Regions from separate parts of the Homo sapiens genome. Here region 2 is linked to region 1. Evidence: promoter capture Hi-C in human tissues and cell types (Jung and others, 2019). All regions are on one chromosome and are shown on one strand. Each heading gives the region's core, a stretch centred on a gene start or on the middle of the fragment in contact. The rest is flanking DNA. Distances are from core to core; before and after follow the strand shown. Region 1 holds the start of PDLIM5 (PDZ and LIM domain 5). Region 2 overlaps GRID2 (glutamate ionotropic receptor delta type subunit 2).

What was found. Contacts are between HindIII fragments. The study calls those that stand out against the background at their distance.
Region 2: a fragment that was not itself captured here is called in contact with the fragment with the promoter of PDLIM5 in region 1 in 1 of the 25 tissues and cell types used here (lymphoblastoid cells).

The regions. Positions count from the first base shown.
Region 1 is chr4:94,450,005-94,455,856 of GRCh38, forward strand. It overlaps PDLIM5 (PDZ and LIM domain 5), which reads left to right and starts at 1,938. Exons shown (of 13, transcript NM_006457.5): 1 at 1,938-1,991; 2 at 5,243-5,380. The coding sequence starts at 5,285. RefSeq lists silencers at 1,588-2,007, 2,178-2,437. The HindIII fragment of the contact is 5,884 bases long and covers 1-4,563 here.
Region 2 is chr4:93,767,174-93,772,985 of GRCh38, forward strand. GRID2 (glutamate ionotropic receptor delta type subunit 2) reads left to right here. Exons shown (of 16, transcript NM_001510.4): 15 at 2,037-2,277; 16 at 4,903-5,812. The coding sequence ends at 5,325. Among named protein-coding and RNA genes, the nearest start is that of ATOH1, 59 kb to the right of the region's middle. The HindIII fragment of the contact is 3,540 bases long and covers 1,272-4,811 here.

The DNA.
Region 1 (5,852 bases), core at 688-3,187:
CATCTTCTCACCTCAGCCTCCCAAGTGCTAGGATTATAGGTGTCAGCCACTGCACCCTGCTCACGTAAGTAATTTTAAATTATCTAGTGGCCACATTTTTTTTAAAAAGTGAAATTAATTTTAATCAAATATTATTATTATTACTCTTTTTTTTTTGGTGCGGAGTCTTGCTCTGTCGCCCAGGCTGGAGGGCAGTGGCATGGTCTCGGCTCACTGCAACCTCTACCTCCCGGGTTCAAGTGATTCTCCTGCCTCAGCCTCCCAAGTAGCTGGGATAACAGGCATGCGCCACCACACCCGGCTAATTTTTGTATTTTTAGTAGAGACGGGGTTTCGCCATGTTGGCCAGGCTGATCTTGAACTACTGACCTCAGGTGACCCACCCGCTTCAGCCTCCCAAAGTGCTGGGATTATAGGCGTGAGCCGTCGCGCCCGGCCATAATCATGTATCATTTAACAAAACATAAAATATGATGATTTCAGCATATAATCAATATAAAAATTATTGAGGCATTTTACATTATTTTTTCATACCAAGTCGTCGAAATCCAGTGTGCATTTTACACTTCCAACGCATTTCAATTTGGGCATTATATTTTCAACTTTAGTCCTTAAATGTAGTGCTTAAAAGAAATGTTAACGACCTGGCGCGGTGGCTCATGCCCGTAATCCCAGCACTTTGCGGGGCCGAGGCGGGTTGGTCACCTGAGGTCAGGAGTTCGAGATCAGGCTGGCCAACATGGTGAAACCCCATCTCTACTAAAAATACAAAAAATTAGCCGGGCGTGGTGGCGCACGCCTGTAATCCCAGCTACTCAGGAGGCTGAGGCAGGGGAATCGCTTGAACCCGGGAGGTGGAGGTTGCAGTGAGCCGAGATTGCACCACTGATCCCAGCCTGGGAGACAGAGCAAGAATCCGTCTCAAAGAAAAAAAAAGTAAAGAAATGTTATCCTGCTTCAGTTTTAAATGTTAAATTATTTAAAATTACGTAAAACAAAAAATTCATGGTCTCAGTTACAGTAGCCACATTTCAACTGTTCGATAGCCACATGTGGCCAGTGGCTACCGTTAGGGAAAGAGCAGCTTTGGATCTTCGCCTTTGGAATTTTGCTTGCACTTCTGGGGGCCGGGGAGCTCACGGACCTCATGAAGTTCATCCTTGCTTTATATGCTCCTTGGTTAAGAATTGTCCTTTTCACGTTTTATAAGCCAATTCACAGTGTAACAGTCTAGTTACTTTCCGTATGTTCAGTGAACATTATTCACGTTTTCTTATGAATAAATTCCTCGGGCGTATCAAGCAACCCTATAGAAGGCTGGAAAGTGGACTATTGATTTGGATTTAGAAAAATAAACTGAAGATACAGTGGTTGAATCACTTTTGGCCGCTTTTATGTATCACTGTCTTCTGGTGTGATGGACAGGGTTAACTTCTGTTAGGGTTACTGGTTTTCACCTTCCTGACAGGTAAACTTCTGGGTCTGCACTTTTCAGAGCATGTAAAGCTCTTTCAAAAAAAAAAACGCAGGCAGTAACCGCTGAACTTGCATAGATAGAGATTTATCCAAAGTACCCTTCTATTTTTAGGCAGAGCAACTGCTTGCCAATTTAAATTTCTGGAGAGAAAAATGCACCCACTACAAAACGGACGAGCGGAGGGTTAGACCTTTGCCAGGTAGCGCTCAAAATCCGCTAAGACTACTCCCACCGAAACTCGGTAGCGCAGTTGTCTTTCCGCAGCTGCTTCAGCCAGCCCCAGCAAGCCCGAGCGCCCGGCGCCGCCGCCACCTTCCCCGCCCCTGCGCGGCGCGGCTGGGACTGGCCCAGAGGCGTGGCCGGGAGCGGAGGGGCGTGTCCTGGGTCGGGGGTGGGGCGAGGGAGAGCCAGGAGGCGGAAGTTCCCGCGGGCGGTGGGGACGGCGCCCTCACCGCGAGTCACTTGTCAGCCCTTGTCTGAGGCGGAGGCAGCCCCGCGCCGCGCCGGACCCGAGGTGAGTGGCGGCCGGCCGGCGATGCGCCTCTCGGATCTCCGGTGGGAGAAGGGAAAGAACCGGCCGCTGTGCGCCGAACGCGAGAAGGGAAGCCCGGTTGGGGACGAGGAGGGGGCGCTCCTCGGGCAGGGATGGCTCCTCAGGTGCTTTCTGGGCGCGGAGCGGCGGAGGTGGGAGAGCAGCTTGGGAAAAGGAGCGCCCGGAAAAGGGCAGCGCTGGAGTCCGCATGAGGCCAGAGGGCGAGCCCTGGGGTCCCCGCAGCCCGGGCCGACCGGGACCAGCGTAGCGGAGACGGGGACGCGGGAGGGCGCCCGGAGGTGGCGAGGGCCGGCAGGGACGGGCACTGCCGCTCCCACCCACCCGGCTGCCGGCGTCGCCCGGCACCACCGTGGTGTGGTGTCTGAGTGCCCAGTCCTGCGCCAGTCTCTTGGAGGGTAGGAAGCGGGACTCAAAGGAAAAGGCGCGTTAGTTTTTCTTTGCTCCCAGGCTACTGAGAAGCATTTATTTCTCCCCCAGATATTTACAGTTTTGTGTAACCTGTTTGGGGAAAACTTCTGCGCGTCCAGAAATAAAGCTCGTTTAAGAAACACATTTGTCATGAACACGAGATTTGTTAACACTTGAGTACTTGTTGGGGCTTTTGTAAGACTGTGCCTTCGGTGCGTTTTACAATAAGTGGAAAAAGGAAGGGCGTGTGGACAGGGCAGAGCTTGGAAGGAAAATTCGTGGCGGCGCTGGGCAGGGCAGATTTAGGGTGTGATCGCCAGATCCTATCCCAAGTCCGCCTTCCTGACGGGGAGGACGTCTGAACCCGCCTGCCACGGAAACGGCCCGTTCGGTAGCCTTATTTGGCCAACAAGGCTAGGCGCGAATCCCTCCTGGAAAACTGTCCTGTCGGCTGCTTTCATCCTGTGCCTGTGGCTTTAGTTCTTCAGCTCTACCTACATTCTCTCTCCATTGCGGGGAAAGAGAATCTCAAGATATTTCTCTTTAATTTCAGGCCTTTTTTTTTGTCACTCTGTGTAGTTCATCTTGAGTTCTCCTTTCTCCCCTCTCACCCACTAATGAAGCTGAGATACAAGTGTGGGAAATACCAAGCTTCCTTCCCTAGTACTAGAGCAAAGACATTGTTTAGACTTTCCCTAAAAGAAAATCCATAACTCTACAGAAATTCCAACCTTTTCGACGTGTTTGAAAGAGTATGCTGCTATTTCCTGCCTGCTTGGTATTTGAGGAAGGGCTTGGGCACTAATAACCAGATGGAGGAGTCTTGGAAAGGCCAATAAAAATATTGCCATTGCTTGGGGCAGAGACTGTTTTAAGGCAGATGAATTCCAAATGAAGCTAGCAGAAGAAGCATCTAGAAATGAACGGACAGTGACTAGAAATGAAATGACACTGGTTTTGTAGTGTGGCTGTGACCTTGCCAGTGCTAGGAATTTTAATAACAAATGAGAGAAGTTAGGAAGGGAATCCCCAAGTAAAGGGAAGTTGCAAGTACATGGGTTGATAATCTAAATGAAATACATTTTCTTGTAGGGAAGAATGGGGCCAGAGGAAGTTGAGCCCAACTTTCATATTATTCCCCAGACACAAGTTAAAGATTAATAAAGGAGGGCAGGCTGCCTGTGAAATATCAGTTGGCTTTACACGATTCTGATTTGTATCGTGTCAATATCAGGACAGTCCTTCTATTAGTTTTCTGAAAATCTCCTCCTTTTATAGCGGGAAAGCAATTGAATTATGTGTGGCTCGTTATTAGCTTCCCACTAGTAGTTTTTCACCTATATATACAGTTTGACTTCCGGCTTGGCCTTTGGATCTTTTTTAGTGCTCTGTGCCTATTACTTCATTACTGAAGTAATGTGTTATTGCCTTGTAGTTCAGTATACTACCACGCCAGTAGAAAAGCTGTTTCGGTTTCTGATACAATTTTCTGTAATTTTTATTTTCCCTGATATAATTTTTCTTTAAAAACCAGGCTTATTTGAATGTTTTGCCCCATTTTCCCTTTATGAGAAGAAGGAATGTTTGCTTTAAATATACCTATGGCTCAAATATCTATATCTGCAACTATGAATTTGGGGTGATGGGCTAGAAATTTTGAATGGGTTAAAACATATTTTAAGACAGGTAATATTAGGTGGTGATTTGGTTGAATAGCTTACATTTTCCAAGGAAGTATGTTTTTAATATAAAATTACATATCTGTTATGTTTTTAATATTTTTTAAAGAGAGAGAATTATTGTTTCTTAGTATTCCATTAAAACAAAAGAAAACTTCATTCCTCTGTCTCCTGCCGTTATAACAACCAATAGGAAACTCGAAGTTTTTTTTTTTTTTTTTGCTTTTTAAAAATTATATGAAAGTACTACTAGGAGAGTCATCACACGCACACTTAACAGCAGAACAGACAAAAGAAAGCACCGAAGCACTGGTTCTTTTCTAAACTGCCAATTCCATTTGAATGCATTAACCCAGCACTTTTGCTGTATTTAGTCATAATCTTATTCACTGAGTGGCAAATGCTTACTCTCTGCCTGGTGAGGTGTGTGTATAAAACAAAAAGCAGGTTGTGACTAACATCACTGTACTAGAGTATTGCCTATCGTTGACTATCTGAAGGAAAAGTAGATATCACTTTAAGTGTGGAAAATACCATGTCCCCATAGGAGGAAATACAAGTTGTAGTTCATGATTGGAGAGAATAGTTTTGTGCATTGAAAAACAGCTTCTCATTGTAAAGAATTTAGTATTTGGAAAGCATGAATGGGAGCCTACTGATTTGCAGTCTCTTTCACATGTTAGAGTAACTTAGAATTTAAGTAAGTGCAGTTGAAAGACTCTTGTCAATTGCAGACAAAAGAATACATGAAGTGGAGGGAAGGAGAAAATTATTCTGAATTCAACCTGAAATAAAATCTTGCTACATTAGTGAAGTATTGTAAAGTACTTTGAGTTAAACTTTGCATGCAAGAAGCCACAAAATTGGATTGAAGCAAGTTGTGAAACATACTAAGTGTCTAGAAATGTATTCTGATATGGAATTTTTAGACCATGGAAATTGCCATGAGTGTAGAAAATTTATATTAGCTCACAGATTGCTTTTCTTAAACTGAAATTAATGAAGAACTTAATTAAGACTTATCTTCTATATCCTCTCACCCCCCTCAAACAAAATACTAAACATAATTTATGTTCTAGGGTTTCAAGTAAACATTTTTGCTAATCATCTGATTTTCTTTCACAGCATATTTCATTTTCTGTCATTGGACTTTGAGCCATTAGAACCATGAGCAACTACAGTGTGTCACTGGTTGGCCCAGCTCCTTGGGGTTTCCGGCTGCAGGGCGGTAAGGATTTCAACATGCCTCTGACAATCTCTAGTGTAAGTAAACTTTACAAATTTTATTATAGATGTTCATTCAGTGCTTAGTCCTCGGGCTGAGTTGTTTAATTCTCTGTTGACCTGTACTCTACTTATTATCATTGCTCCTGGGATTTGATCTTGGCAAATTTGATTATCTATAATAAAGGATGAGGGGAGTAGATTTAGCAAGGATAACTGACTTCAATTTAACTTCTTTTCGTTTTCCCCCATGTTATCAATAATAAAATGGAAAAAGCATTTAACTAGGAACAGACTGTACATTTTTGAACTGTCCCTAATTTGGGGAATTCTCTGAATCTTCGTTCTTTCATATATAATTTTCAAAGGTTGTGCTATGGGATTTTAATAATCTCTTTCAGTTCCAAAAGCTGTTTGTTAAAAACTGTTGATCAAAATTGAATAAAATGATTGTTTCGGAATTATTTCCTCAGCTCACTTTCTGGTGGAGGTGATAGCCAACAGTAAGATG
Region 2 (5,812 bases), core at 1,792-4,291, 680 kb before region 1:
AACAAAATCATGCCGTTTTCTTTTCTGCTGGTCTTCTGAGAGTCTTTAATAGGCTGACATCTTTGTAAATTCCCAAGAGTGTGTTTCTCAGAATTAATAACCACAAGGCCCTTTTCTTACAGAGGTCTTGTAGGTACTGGTTTGCTGTGAAATGCACTTTTGGAAATTCTGGAAATGCAAATGGCTTTTTCTGGAATGGAAGCTGGAATAAGGGTGACATATAACCCATTAATATTCATAATCATTTTAGTAAATTCAATTAATCAAATTAATTACTCTTCTAGAGCAACACTCTAGACAGATACATTTCACAGGAAGCAAGGAGAAAAGGTCCAGGTTGTGGGGGAGGTTTCAGAACAGTCTCAGTCCTGGACTGCCAGCACGGGGCACCAGAGCTGAGGCTGTGGGAACGTCTGGGAGAGATGACAGGGACCTGAGACCAACCCTCTACCAGAGCCTTAAGGGCTGGTCTCACTCTAGTTTAACTCAGATTAAACACTGACCCAACTTCCAATGCACAAAATCTTCTTCCCTTTATCATGTTGCTTGTTCTTCTAGCCATGTGGATGACATGAAACAGGTAAAAAGGTCACTACAACTCCATTCTCTGAACTCTTAAATTGTAAGCAGTCTCACCCCAAATAATCCAAGACCTTGGGCAAGAGTACAAATATAGGTTCACATACCCCAAGTCTAATTATGTAAAAATTATGCATTAAACTAAAACCTGTTTGATATAATATATTCTATGTTCTTATCTGGACAAATATACCTTCATGACCCCTGGGAGGCCAGGTTTAAGTTTCTATGTGACTAGCCAGGAGGTCTGAACTGACCCAGGAGCACAGGGCTCTGGGGCCCTTTCTTTCCACCTGCAGCTCCAACTTGCACGCTGAAGTGTCTCCTACGCAAGGCTGTATACACCCGAGCTCACTCATCTGAGCTCTGTCCACACTCTACAAACTCCACCCTATAGAGCTATGGTGCACCCGTGGCTGTAAGATCTTCTGCCAGGAGGACAACCCTGGGAATAGGCCTGGCAGGCCCTGGAAGAGCACTAAGCTGTTTGGCCAGGAAATTCCAGGGAACCCAGAGGACGATGCACACTCTGTACAGGCACACAGCCTTGGTCTGATCTTCCTTGCCCTGTGAAAAAGGGCATAGCTGGAGGAGGGCCACATCTAGGCTGGCCTCAGGTAGAGCCTAAGAAGCACTGGGAATTGAGAATAATTCCTCTATGAAAAACACACTTTAAAAAGCTGCAGTGTGCAGCTACCCTCAGACTCTGGGGAGGGGAAAAAGAAGCAGCAGAAGAAAAAGAAGAGGGTTTTTCCTATTTGAATTTAACTACTTCTGAAAGCCTCTGGTCAGGTTTTCTTCTTGTTTTCCAAGGTAAGATTACTTCCCCTTTGGCATTAAAAGGGAAACTAGATCAGTTGTGCGAAAAACCAAAAAAGATGTATTTTATCAACTTGAAACTTATCCCAAGGCTTCCTCTCACACTGTGTTAAATAATAGGTCTTCTTAATTGAATTTCTTTGTGTGTAGCATATGCTGGGTGACATTACGCCAGCATCTTGCTCTAAGCAGCAAAACGTTCTTCATAAAAGCATTAAGATCCTGAGTATCATTCTGGATGTAGGAAAGGGACACAGAACTACAACAACTTGAAAGCATATAAAAACAGTGCCTCTGAATTGTGATTGTAAAAACACACTGAAGCAAACCAGGAGGAAAATATTTAGAATTATAGAATGAAACCAGAAGAAGAAGAATAGGAAGAAAAGGAGAGAGGAAGATGGGAGGGTGGGATGGGTGAAGAGAGAGAGGAAAGCAGTGTGGTGCAATGCTGTCTGTAGAATCAAAGCAATGATGACTTTCTGTTTCCTAGCATTCCATCTAAAACAAGCAGATCTATATATTCATTTCCCTTTGACAGCCACCATCCTACAGAGGTGGGATTATAAATGGATGTGTTGTGAACCAGGGCGATAACTATGTCTGTAATAACACATGCTTATGTTCTTTATCCCAAGGATCCTGGAGCTTCAGCAGAATGGTGACATGGACATCCTGAAGCACAAATGGTGGCCTAAGAATGGCCAGTGTGACCTGTACTCGTCAGTGGACACAAAGCAGAAAGGAGGCGCCCTGGACATAAAGAGCTTTGCAGGGGTCTTTTGTATCCTGGCTGCTGGAATTGTCCTCTCCTGCTTCATAGCCATGCTGGAGACGTGGTGGAACAAGAGGAAAGGCTCCCGGGTTCCATCAAAAGAGGTACTTGATTGAGAGATTTGGCTCTAAATTGAATCAACAAGCAGGCTGTATTTCCAGGGAGGACCATCCCAGGGAGGATAATGGGTTGGGGGTGGTCCTTGTTTTTTCGTTTCTTGAAGATTAAAAATAAAGTTGTGAAATATAAAAATTGGTAAGATCAATATCAATTTCCATTTTAGGATATCCCCAGATCAGTGAAGAGGAGACTATAGTGTTTGAAAGACTTAGAAATTCATATACCATAATGGGCTTTGAAATTCTCTCAAATCTCAGAATAGATTTTAATTCAGTGATTTTTAAAGGCCATGATTCCTTTGACCAGTTCACAGAGATACTTACCATTTTGTTTCACTTAGTTGTTTAACTTGTAAGTAAATTCCTCGTATCTCTAAGACTAGCCCCCCAAAAATACAATACTGTAATAAAAATGATCAGAATTTTCTCTTCACCACTAGTGACTGCCTCCTTCTCTACTCATGTAGACCTATAGAAGCTCTTCGATGGCCCCAAGCTTATCAAATCCAAAATCCACATCATGAAAACATCCAAATTTCAATGTTTCTCCTTTACTGTGGAGTCAGCTTCACTTCAGGGCCATATTAAATTTTATCTCAATATCTGAAAGAATAATTACAGAATTACACATATCTCTTTTATAGTGGCCTGAGCATTGTTTTCATCAAGAAGTATGAGACTTATAAATTAAAGAAAATCTGAAGCTAAATCTTGATTAATTTATCTTATTTCCATTGGACTAAAGGGGTGAAAATGTTTTAACTGATGAAGTCATATTCACTAAAGCTTCACAAATTGAAACAAAAACCAATCTGAATTTGCTAAACAATTTTATGTGATGGATAGCTTCAAAGAAACTTTTAAAGTTTCTATAACTAGAACTTGGCTGACTAACTGATGCCTGAGGCAACTCCTGAAAGGATCTACTTTAATGCACAATAAATACGGCTTCTCATTTGCATATGAATTGTTGCACATTAATGTGTTTTTTTCAAACAGGGTGATTTCAAAAGTAGTGTAAGGATTCCTTCTTATCACCTTATATGCAAAATTGATCAGCAGCATTTATAAGGAAAAGCTTGGCTTTAGCAAAGATGAATTTTAGCTTCCTACCTGTGTGAATGAGCATACATTCTAAATATGTGAAGAATGAATTATAAATTAATCAAGTCACATTGTAGTGTTTTCTTTGTGGAATAAGCTTCTGGTATCTCCGTTGACATTGATTCAATGCAAAAGACCACATTAATGCAACATTATAGCTGAGACTCATATTTTTAAAAATCTGGAAAGTAAGGACTCCCCAAGCTCCTTATATTTTGAATTACTCTATATGATATTAAAATTTTGCATTATTATATCTGTTGATGGATGACTACATTACAGTTGCTGTGGGAACCATAAAATTATATGTCTCAATCCTCTAAAGTCTCAGTGATAATATTGCATTAATGGATATTTTTTATTGAATTTTGAAATAAGAAGGGAGAAGGAAAAACAGTGATGCACATCAAAATATTTTTCACTGAGGAACACTATAATAGCACAATGAAAAAAATACATGCTCCATTCTAACTTGTGACAGCTAATCCAGATCCTATGAAAAAATATTTTCTCCTCTTATGATTAATAGATATCTTAAATTCTCATAAATTTAATTTATTGAGTTTGGCTGTAAATAAGACTAATAACAAGGATAATTTTATTTCCTTCCAGTTTTATTTCTCAAATATTGGGCGTTAATACTCACTTTTAGTGAAAAATATAAGGAACTTATCAATGGGTTTCAATTCCAAAAATCTGAGATTTTACTTATATTTTTGTTTATTAACTGCCTTCTTACCAAGACGCCATTAGCATAGCTTAAAACGTCTTTGGTTTTGAGGTCAGTTAGCATAAAGCTGGCCCTAAACTAAAGCTATCACTCACGTGCCCTGACTTGAAGGGGTCCCTAAATATCTCACTGACCTCACAGTATTGACTGATTCAGGTGCTAGATACCTTGAGTGCATAAATCCCTCAATTAGAAATTATTTTGTGTTGAGTATTGCTCTCTCTAAACAATCGCACATATCCTTGGCTTACAAGGAATAACACTTTAACAGTCACTAACACTTCAGTATGAAATAGCTTACTATATCATTTTTTTCAAGAATGGAAACTTAAGTTTAGGAGTAAGTGGTTGAAAGGAACAAAAATTTAACTTGGAATGAGACGCCCTGAAAAGGGAGGAAGCATGTATAAAGAAGAGGTGGGGGGTAGAGTTGCCAAAACCATACTTTCTATTGTTACAATTTTGCCTGGGTCTGTCTTTTATAGAATGGCAATCACCCATCAACTGCTTACATATCTTTGTAGTTGCATGTGGCATATGATCACTTTAAAACCTTTACTGCAAGAAAAATATTTATTGTAGATAATCTTATCTCAGAATTGGAATCCCCCAGAACTTAGCACAGTGCCTGGCTCATACTAGGTGCTCAATAAATATTTGTTAAATGAATAAACCCCAAAGTTCAGTTAATTACATGTTTGCTGAACTACTTTTTTTTTTTTAACCATCAAAGCTAGTACTGATGAGAACCTTATTTTCTTTTTCTTCATCTCCAGGATGACAAGGAAATTGACCTGGAGCACCTCCATAGACGTGTAAATAGCTTGTGCACAGATGACGACAGCCCCCATAAACAGTTTTCCACCTCGTCAATTGATTTGACCCCTCTGGACATTGACACTTTGCCAACACGACAAGCACTGGAGCAAATCAGTGATTTCAGGAACACTCATATTACCACAACAACCTTTATCCCAGAGCAGATCCAGACTCTTAGCCGCACACTGTCAGCTAAAGCTGCTTCTGGTTTCACTTTTGGCAACGTGCCTGAGCACCGAACTGGCCCTTTTAGGCACAGGGCACCTAATGGGGGCTTTTTCAGGAGTCCTATAAAAACAATGTCATCTATTCCTTATCAACCAACTCCTACCCTGGGGCTCAATCTGGGTAATGATCCAGACCGAGGCACCTCCATATGAGCATCAAACAAATCTCTTCACTGTTTCTTTTTTAGGACTCCCTTTGCAAGGAGCAACTGTAATATTGTGGGACTAACATGGATGTAACGTTTAAAAAAAAGATCAGGATTATTAGTAACAATTCTAGTTTTTTCCTCCCACCTTCTCCCTCTCCTCTCTCCTCTATGATTTTCTCTCTTTCCCCCTCCCTTCCTGTACATTTTCCTCCACTTTTTTTCATTACTCAACTTGTTCCCCAAGAAGGTAGTGTACTAGGATCCTATTAGTCTGCTTTTCATATACTGTACATCAAGTATAGGAAATGTGCACTGAGTATACTAAAAGTATATGCAGGATTAATTTTACATAAAGGCCTCTTCTGTAACATTTCTCTATTTTTTGAAATACAATTGCAATAACTTCAGTCTTTTTACATTCTTCTGCTGCATCCATACAATGCTCCACTGCTGTTGAGTGTCCTTTAACTGTGGACCAAAGGCAACCCCTG